3 separate regions of the Homo sapiens genome follow, and regions 1 and 2 are each linked to region 3. The links are contacts of gene promoters, found by promoter capture Hi-C in blood cells and fetal thymus (Javierre and others, 2016). All regions are on one chromosome and are shown on one strand. Each heading gives the region's core, a stretch centred on a gene start or on the middle of the fragment in contact. The rest is flanking DNA. Distances are from core to core; before and after follow the strand shown.

Region 1 (3,131 bases), core at 16-2,515, 200 kb before region 3:
CAGCCAGATAGATAGATCCTTGGTTTGTCAGCCACTGTGTGCAGAACCCAGGAGCTCTCCAACGTAACTCTCATCAACTTCAAGAAATTCTACAACTTTGAAGTTTTCCTTTGCTACCAGCTTGCATAAGCAGACCTGACAGACAGAAGAGATGCAGATGGGGGGTGGACAGATGCTGGTGCTAGGTAGGGTGAGATGCTTGACTGGGAACGAAGTAAGTGGCCAGGACAGTACTAAATATATTCATGTTTTAACAACTCTTAACTTCCAACTCAGATAATGAATGCTCAGCTATGGGGCACCCTAATCATACAATTAACTGTATCAGCCCAAGATCTCTTGCATCTGGAGTTAGCGAGGGATAAAATTCCATCTTGTTTAAGCCGGTGTTATTGTGGATCTCTGTTATAAAGCCTCTGTCCTACCTAATACATCTAGTCTTTTGGTGGTAATTACAATCAATTTTCCTGTGGGCACCATTCTTTCCCACTTATGGCCCATGTGGTTCAGGCTGGGCGGTCCCTACCTCTAGGATGCAGAGATTGTCACGTGACTCAGGTTTGACCAAACTGCCCCATTTGCCTGGCCACAGGGATTGGTTCAGGAATGGTTCGAATGACCTAAGCCCTCCAGGAGTTTTGCTGGAAGCACTGAGCTTTGCTGGAGCCTCCAGGGGTAGTTGTTGAGACTGTGGGTCTGAAAACAGAGCCAATGGGGAAGAATGAGGAGTTGAGAGACATGGAGACACCTTCTGGGCACCTGGATTCAGCTGCGCCTGAAGCTCAGCAACCCCAGGACTTTAAGTCACTTGAGCCAATACATTCACCTTTTATCATAAACCAGTTTGAGCTGGTTTTCTGTCACTTGCCTGAAAAAGAACTGAGACTTTACACAGAGAAGAAAAATTTGGAATGGGGAGAAAAGGAGAATGAGCACTGTCTTCAAAGATCTAAAGGGCCGCCTGGGCTTTGTGTGATCACACACAGACTGTGTGGTTCCAGTGGGCAGAGGGACTGGACCAGGCTTCTGGCTCTTTATGAGGAACTTTCCCACAATTAGAGCTGTTCAAAGAGGGCCCCAGGCAATTTCAAGAGAGAGAGAGGAAGCTTCCCGTTTCTGGGGGTATGCAAACAGAGCCAGGATGTGGTGAAAGAAACTCAGGCTGACTAGGAGGACAGAGATCCTGTAATTTGTGAATGTGACTTAGTACCTCCAACCAGCTTTCATGTAGAGCCGGAGAATATCAGTCACACCCAATCTTTAATTATAAAATATTTAAGATATTCAAGAAGGTATGGAAGATAATTCACTGATCACTCCTGCATTCACCACTGTCAGCTCAAGAAATAAAACCACCAGGACAGCCGAGCTGCTGACCACAGACCCCTCCACCCTCCTGATCCCCCGCTGGTCATTAAGCTTTGACTACCCATGCACAGTCCTAAGGGATATGTACTTCAGAGGTCTTTTTTAAATAGAGGGGTTAGAATTGCCATGCTTTCAGGCCCTACAGATTTTTTGTTATTAAATAAAAGTGCTTAGCTACTAATAAAACATGTGTTTTCTTTCTTTTTTAATAATAGAAAAGTATGACAAGAGCAGTCCCTGAACAGTTTTTCATCTTGTTTATATGAAAGCCATTTCCTCACCTCCCCTCCCCACCCCCGCCACCCAGCCTCCCACACCTCGCTGTTCCCAGCTCTGGATTCCATCTCTGGGCTCTATTCCCTGCTGATAATCACAATTCCAGGATTGAGACTGAGATAAGGCGTATCAAGCACTTTGCACATTCCCTGGCATATAGTAAGCACTAATTTTAGCACTAGTTGTCATTATCACTGTCATTGCCATCTCGGGAATTGCTCCACCCCCATCCCTTCCCCTTGGCAGGAAGTTGCCAACCCTCCACTGCCTCTGCTCACCCACCTTCTTCAGGTTGTCCTGAAATTCCACTGATTTTACCCTTCACTACCTGCCAGACCACAATCTCTGCAACTGGTTTCCTTGCCTTCGGTCTCAAACCCCCATTCACCCTCCTCACGGTGGCCCAAGCAATTGTTCCTTTCCAGTATGTGGCTCCCTGGCTTGCCCCCACCTCCGTGATGCCCCCAAGGCCCCATCCCTGCAGACTGACTTGCAGGTTCCTCAACTACCTCTTCCCTTACTCCTCTGAGCAGCCCCACGTGCTGTTCCCTCTGCCCAAGATGCCCTTCCCCTCTTGCTCTGTCTGGCTCCTCCCTCCATATCCTTCCAGGCTTAGCTCAAGAGTGGGCTCCTCCAGGATGCCCTCCCAGGCCCCCCGGTCAAATCAGGCTCCCGCTCCCTGGGCAGTGTGCCCAGGCCTACTCTACAAGCCTCTAACAGCCTCTGGGATCATGATTCTTTGTGAGTCTCCCTTGCTCCAGGTGGCGAATTTCTTGAAGGCAGGAGGAATGCTGTCTTCCTCAGCAAATCGCTGTGGCATAGCAATTTAAAAAATAGTATCCCTGACTTTTCTAAGCTTTTTGCTCCTTCCAACTCGCTTATGCTTCCCAAGAACCCGGGGGGGAGGTCCTGAACCAGCCCCATTTTACAGATGAGGAGAGGAGGCAGCGTGTGTGTGTGCTTCCTGCGGCTGCTGGAACAAATGACCACAAACCCAGTGGCTTAAAACAATGCACATCTATTCTCTTACAGTTCTGCACGCCGGAAGTCCAAAGTCAAGGTGTGGGCAGGGCTGGCTCTTCCTCGAGGCTCTGGGGGAGAATCCTTGCTTCCATCCTCATATCACAGCAACCTCCGCTTCTATCGGCGTAGCTCCTCCTCTCAGTCGAAGCTCCCTCTGCCTCTTTCTTATATACAAGGACACTTGTGATTACATTTGGGGCCCATCCAGATAGCCTGCAACAATCTTAAGATCCGTAATCTAATTACGTCTGCAAAGACCCTTTTGCCACCTGAGGGAGCACTGGTAGGCTCCGGGGATGAGGGTGTGGGGTCCTGGGAGGCCTCTGTGCAGCTGCCTCAGAGGGTAGCAGTGGCACAGCTGCAATGTGGACCCGGGGGGTCTGGCTCCAGATCTCGGTGCCATAGCACTTCCCTTGAAGATGGTTCCCTGATTGTGGGGCTGGCCGTATGGCAAGGCATTCCAG
Region 2 (3,016 bases), core at 186-2,685, 160 kb before region 3:
CAACATATGAATTTGGGGATTAAGTCTCCCACACATGAAATTTAGGAGACACATTCAAAACACAGTAGTCTGCCCTGGGCCCCAAAATGCATGTCCTCACATGCAAAATGTACTCATTCCATCCCCAAAGCCCCAAAGTCTTAACCTGCTCCAGCATCAACTCAAAAGTCTGCAGTCCAGAGTCTCATCTGAATGAGATATGGGTGAGACTGAAGGTACGATTCATCCTGCGATGAATTCCTTCCAGCTGTGACCCTGTGAGATCAAACAAGTTATCTCCTCCCAAAATACAGTGGTGGCACAGGCATTGGATAGACATTCCCATTCCAAAAAGCAGAAGTAGGCATGATGAAAGGGGCAGATGGTCCCAAAGAAGCCCAAACACAACAGGGTAGATATTGTATCTTTTTTGTTGTTGTCTGTCACCAGGCTAGAGTGCAGTGACATGATCTTGGCTCACTGCAACCTCCGCCTCCCGGGTTCAAGTGATTCTCCTGCCTCAGCCTCCCGAGTAGCTGGGACTACAGGTGTGCACCACCACGCCCAGCTAATTTTTGTATTTTTAGTAGAGACGGGGTTTCACCATGTTGGCCAGGATGGTCTCGATCTCTTGACCTTGTGATCTGCCAGCCTCGGCCTCCCCAAGTGCTGGGATTATAGGAGTGAGCCACCAAGCCTGGGCTAAACATCACACCTTAAGACTCCAGAATAATCCTTCACTCTGTGTTCCGCCTCCTGGACATACTGGGGTGGGGGGTGGGCCCCAAAGGCCTGGGGCAGCCTGGCTTCCATGGCTTTGCTGGGCCCAGCCCACACTTGAGCTCTCCCTGGCTGGCGTTGCACACTGGTAGCTGTACAGTTCTCGGGTCTTGGTGATGGTCTCACTGCCTCAGCTCCACCAGGCATTGCCTTCATGAGAGGCTTTTTGTGGTGTCTCCACCCCTGCAACAAATCCTGCTTGGGCTACAAGGCTGATACAGCCTTTGAACTAGGCAGAGGCTGCCATACTCACAGCTCTTGCTTTCTGTGAGCCTGTAGAATTAGCACCATGCAGATGCCACCAAGGCTATGGGCTTATATCTTCCAGAGCAGTGGGTCCAGCCACACCTGGGGCTGCTTGTGCCACAGCTGGGACAGTGGAGGAAACACTACATGAGAGCACGGACACTCTAGGGGGCCCTGGACAGCAAATCCATGAAGGGTGCCTGGCCTGTCCCCAAAACCATTCTTCCTTCCTAGGCCTCTGGGTCTGTGATGGGAGGGCCAGCTTGGAAGATCTTTGAAATGCTTCGGGGTCTTTCTTCCATTCTCTCATTTATTTATTTATTTATTTATTTATTTATTTTTTTGAGACAGAGTCTCACTCTTGTCGCCCAGGCCCGAGTGCAGTGGCATGATCTCAGCTCACTGCAACTTCCACCTCCCAGGTTCGAGCAATTCTCCTGCTTCAGCCTCCTGAGTAGCTAGGATTACAGGCGCACGCCACCATGTCTGGCTAATTTTTGTATTTTTAGTAAAGATGGGGTTTCACCATGTTGGCCAGGCTGGTCTCGAACTCCTGACCTCGTGATCCGCCCACGTCAGCCTCCCAAAGTGCTGGGATTACAGGCATGAACCACCGCACGCGACCTTTCTTCTATTCTCTTGCCGATCTTTCTCCCTGTACTAATTTCCTTAGCGAACAGTTGCTGGGCCACCCTTTTGGTTCCCTCTCCTGAACATGCCTCTTCTCTCTTTATGTGGCCAGGCTGAGAATTTTCCAAGACTTTCTGCTTTGCTTCCCTTTTGATTATAAATTTCATCTTTAAGTCATTTTCCCTCTTGCAGCTTAATGTAAGTAGCTGTGCAGCAGCCGGAACACTTTGCAGCTTAGATAGTTCTTTTGCCAGATATCCTAATGTATTGCTCTCAAATTCTGCATTCCATAGAGTCCCTGGCACAGACACAATCCAGCCAAGTTCTTGGCCAGTTTATAACAAGGACGGGCTTTACTCCAGTTTCCAATATCTTGTTCCTCCGTTCCATCTGAGACTTCATCAGAGTGGCCTTTATTCTCCACATTTCTATCTGCATTCTGGTCATGACCACTTAAGTAATCTCGCAGAGGTTCCAGACTTCCCCTAGTCTTCTTGTTTTCGAAGACCTCACCAGAATTGCCCTTAATGCTCTTTTTACAGCAATACAGGCTTTTCTAGCCTGCTTCTCCAAATTCTTCCAGCCCATTGGGTAATGCTACTCATTTCAAAGCTGCTTCTGTGTTTTTGGGTATTTGTTACTAGCAACACTTCTCAGTACCAATTTTCTGTCTAGTGTATTCTCTGTTGTTATAACAGAATATCACAGACTGGTAGTTTATAAGCAATAGAAGTTTATTTAGCTCATGGTTCTATAGGCTGGGGAGTCCAAGAGCATGGTGCCAACATCTGGTGAGGGCCTTCCTACAGCGTCAGGAAACGGCACAGTGTGTCACATGGCGAGAGGGCAAGAGTGTGCCAGCTCAAGTCTCTCTTCCTCTTCTTATAAAGCCACAAGTCCCATCATGGGGCCCCACCCTGACGCCCTCATCTAATCCTAATGACCTCCCAATGGCCCCACCTCCAATCAACATATGAATTTGGGGATTTTTTAAATCATTTTTTAGGGGGGCTAGAGATGGGGGGGTCTCACTATGTTGCCCAGGCTGGTCTTGAACTCTTGACCTCAAGCCATTCTCCCACCTCAGCCTCTCAAAGTGCTGGGATTATAGGCATAAGCCACCACACCCAGCTGGAATTAAGTATTTTTTTTTTTTTTTTTTGAGACACAGTCTCACTCTGTCGCCCAGGCTGGAGTGCAGTGGTACAAGCTCCGCCTCCTGGGCTCACGCCATTCTCCTGCCTCAGCCTCAGCCTTCTGAGTAGTTGGGACTACAGGCGCCCGCCACCACGCCCAGCTAATTTTTTGTATTTTTAGTAGAGACAGAGTTTCACTATGTTAGCCAGGATGGTCTTGATTTCCTGACCTCGTGATCCGCCTG
Region 3 (2,861 bases), core at 164-2,663:
CAAGACCTTCACGTTGTAACAATTCCATTTCAGTAAAACAGTGAAGAGCACATTCATGTTCACCTGAATGTTACTGGAATCGTAATTTTCTTTTAATTTACTTTGTTTTGGTCTTTAATGGTTGAGTAAGAGTTACAAGCCTAGGGGTTTACACCTAGTATCACGTGGATATACAGTGAAGTAACATAATGAAAATAATTTACAGCCTGGGCAACATGGTGAAACTCCATCTCTACAAAAAATACAAAAATTCGCTGGGTGCCATGGCTCATGCCTGTGGTTCCGGTTACTTGGGAGGATGAGGTGGGAGGATGGCTTGAGGCCAGGAGGTTGAGGCTGCAGTGAGCCGAGATCACGCCACTGTACTCCAGTCTGGGTGACAGAGCGAGACCCTCTCTCAAAAAAAATAATAATTTAGGCAAACATAAGGATCAGTGAGACTTTTGTGTTTTTGTTTTTGGTTTTTCCTCTACAGAGTCACTTTGAAAACTCAGGCTACCCTGAAGGCTGGCCAAAAGGATGACAACAATTATTTCCTTTGGTACTGTTAGAACAAAGTCAGTACAAGTGGGTCTAATCATCTGAGGCAACTTCTGTGTTTCTGCTTAGTCTAATGTTTCCCATCGCCACCACTCCCGTCTCAATCTTTTTGAATTGTGGGTTATTCCCAATCATGTCTTTTTTTCCTTCTATCTAAACCTTTGGGGGTGAAAAGTTGGCCCCTTTTACTGCGTCCATCCCGTAGCACTTGGCACAGGGAAGATGATGCTTATCTGTTGAGTTTGCTGAACTAAGGAACTAAAGTGAGTATTACCAACATTAAAGGTGAGAAAACTGAGGCTTAAAGAGATTTAATTTGCTCAAGATCGCTGGGATGAACATTTGAGCCGCTGGACAAGAGTCTGCATTTAGTCTCTAAGCTGGCTTCATTCTTAAGGATATCGCACCTCTCGAGGCTCAAATCGTTTGCTTAACTCATGGAATGTCTCTGTGGTCTTGGGAAAGGCCTCTTCCCGCTCTGGGTCTGAGTTTCCCCATCTGTGAAACGGGGGCGTGCCCCAGAGCGCCAAGGCCTCTTGCAGCTCTGAAACGGCTGAGAGGAGAAGCTGGAGGGAGTATGGGGCCTGGTCCTCTCCTAGGTTCTTACCATTTGATGATGTTGTGAACCAAAGGTAAAAAGGAGTAGTTCTCTTCCTCCCTCGCGCGGGCAGGTGACTGAGGCCGTGGCGCCGGCGACTGCTGCGGTTGAGGCGCAGGGACCGGCGGCGGCTGAGGAGGCGGCAGCGGCTTGGTGTCAGGCAGCGGCTGGTCGGACGTTGGCGGCAATACATCCTCCGCCTGTCGCCCGGCTGCCACCCCAGCAGAGGCCATGGCTCCGGGGGTAGGTTAGCCAGAGGTCGGGTCGCCAAAAGCGTCGCGCACTCTACACGTCACCACCGCGCGCCCTGCAGGGGCGGGGTGTGGAGGAAGGCTCTGAGCGTGCGCACTGGGCAGTCGGCGGGAAAAGGCGCGGAGGCGGGGGTGGGGAGGCTGTTGCTAGGCAACGGGCCGTGGGTGGGTCTGGGGTGCCTGGATTTGGATTGTGAGTCAAGATTGCTAAATTATTAAATAGTGAGAAATAGGGGTTTATTTCAGAAATAACAATCTTTTTTTTTTTTTTGAGACGGAATTTCGCTCTTGTTGCCCAGGCTGGAGTGCAGTGGCGCGATCTCGGCTCACCGCAACCTCCGCCTCCCGGGTTCAAGCGATTCTCCTGCCTCAGCCTCCCTAGTAGCTGGGATTACAGGCATGCACCACCACGCCCGGCTAATTTTATATTTTTAGTAGAGACGGGGTTTCTCCATGTTGATCAGGCTGGTCTCGAACTCCCCACCTCAGGTGATCCGCCCGTCTCGGCCTCCCAAAGTGCTGGGATTACAGGCGTGAGCCACTGCACCCGGCCAGAAATAACAATCTTCTTATTCCTATTCACACGATGAAGAGGGCCCCAAAGCCACAAACACAGGAAGCCTTGAGATTAGTAAGGTGCAGCCTGGCCCAGTGCACCCAAGTCTGGAGAGGAGCCACTGGACCTGTGGGAGGCGTAGACAGCACTTACCTGCTGGGTGAGGCACCAAACCCGGCCCAGCCCACAGTGCAAGACATCGAGACCTCGAGTTTAGCCCTAAGGACGCAGAGGCAAAGGGATTGCGGTCCCTTCAATGCTGCAAGGTTGCTTAGAAAGAGTCTAATAATTCAACTCAACACACATTTAGTATGCACCTGCTGGATGGCCACCTGTATGTGTGGTTGCAGGCAGGCTGTCCTTGCTTTCAGTACAAGGTAGAGGGGATTGGTGCCAGGAGTAAATATCATATCCTGGAAGAACGACAAGGTCAGGTACTCTCCATACCTTCGGGCCAGTTCCCCAAGCCCCTAGGTCCCAGTTTCCTCACCCCTAAAATCATATTTAGTTCAGATTCATGGCACAGCCTAAACTGCATTCTAACTTCACATGCGTGGCTGACCCCAAAAGGTCTTGTTGGCATGAGGACTCCCTAGGATCATAGGCCAAAGATGGGTTTATGGTTATGCTTCTCAAAACAAGTTTGATATGAGGGCTGTGTAGTAATTTTCCGGGCAATGGGGACACCCACCCCAAGCTTAGCTAGTGAGTAGAAGACATGAGTGGGGAAAGCTGTCAACTGGTGAGCCCATTCTGCTGTAATCCACCATCATGGGCAGTACAGAGAGGCGAGGAGGTCCACATCCACATAGCATGATGAACAGGAGCCTTAAGAGCAAGGTGGCCAGGGAAAGGATCAATGCTGATATTTTCAGGCACATTGGGAGGGCTGTGCGGAGGCAGATCCTTGGGGAGT

The links. Contacts are between HindIII fragments. The CHiCAGO score rates a contact against its expected background, and 5 or more counts as called.
Region 1: a contact is called between a fragment that was not itself captured here and the fragment with the promoter of MED9 in region 3, in 1 of 17 cell types (M0 macrophages). The highest score is 5.1, in M0 macrophages.
Region 2: a contact is called between a fragment that was not itself captured here and the fragment with the promoter of MED9 in region 3, in 2 of 17 cell types (monocytes and neutrophils). The highest score is 6.7, in monocytes.

The regions. Positions count from the first base shown.
Region 1 is chr17:17,670,623-17,673,753 of GRCh38, reverse strand. No RefSeq gene overlaps it. Among named protein-coding and RNA genes, the nearest start is that of SMCR2, 5.5 kb to the left of the region's middle. The HindIII fragment of the contact is 313 bases long and covers 1,109-1,421 here.
Region 2 is chr17:17,635,591-17,638,606 of GRCh38, reverse strand. No RefSeq gene overlaps it. Among named protein-coding and RNA genes, the nearest start is that of SMCR2, 41 kb to the left of the region's middle. The HindIII fragment of the contact is 7,472 bases long and covers 1-3,016 here.
Region 3 is chr17:17,475,552-17,478,412 of GRCh38, reverse strand. It overlaps MED9 (mediator complex subunit 9), which reads right to left and starts at 1,413. Exons shown (of 2, transcript NM_018019.3): 1 at 1,148-1,413. The coding sequence starts at 1,371. RefSeq lists an enhancer at 1,310-1,409. The HindIII fragment of the contact is 9,122 bases long and covers 1-2,644 here.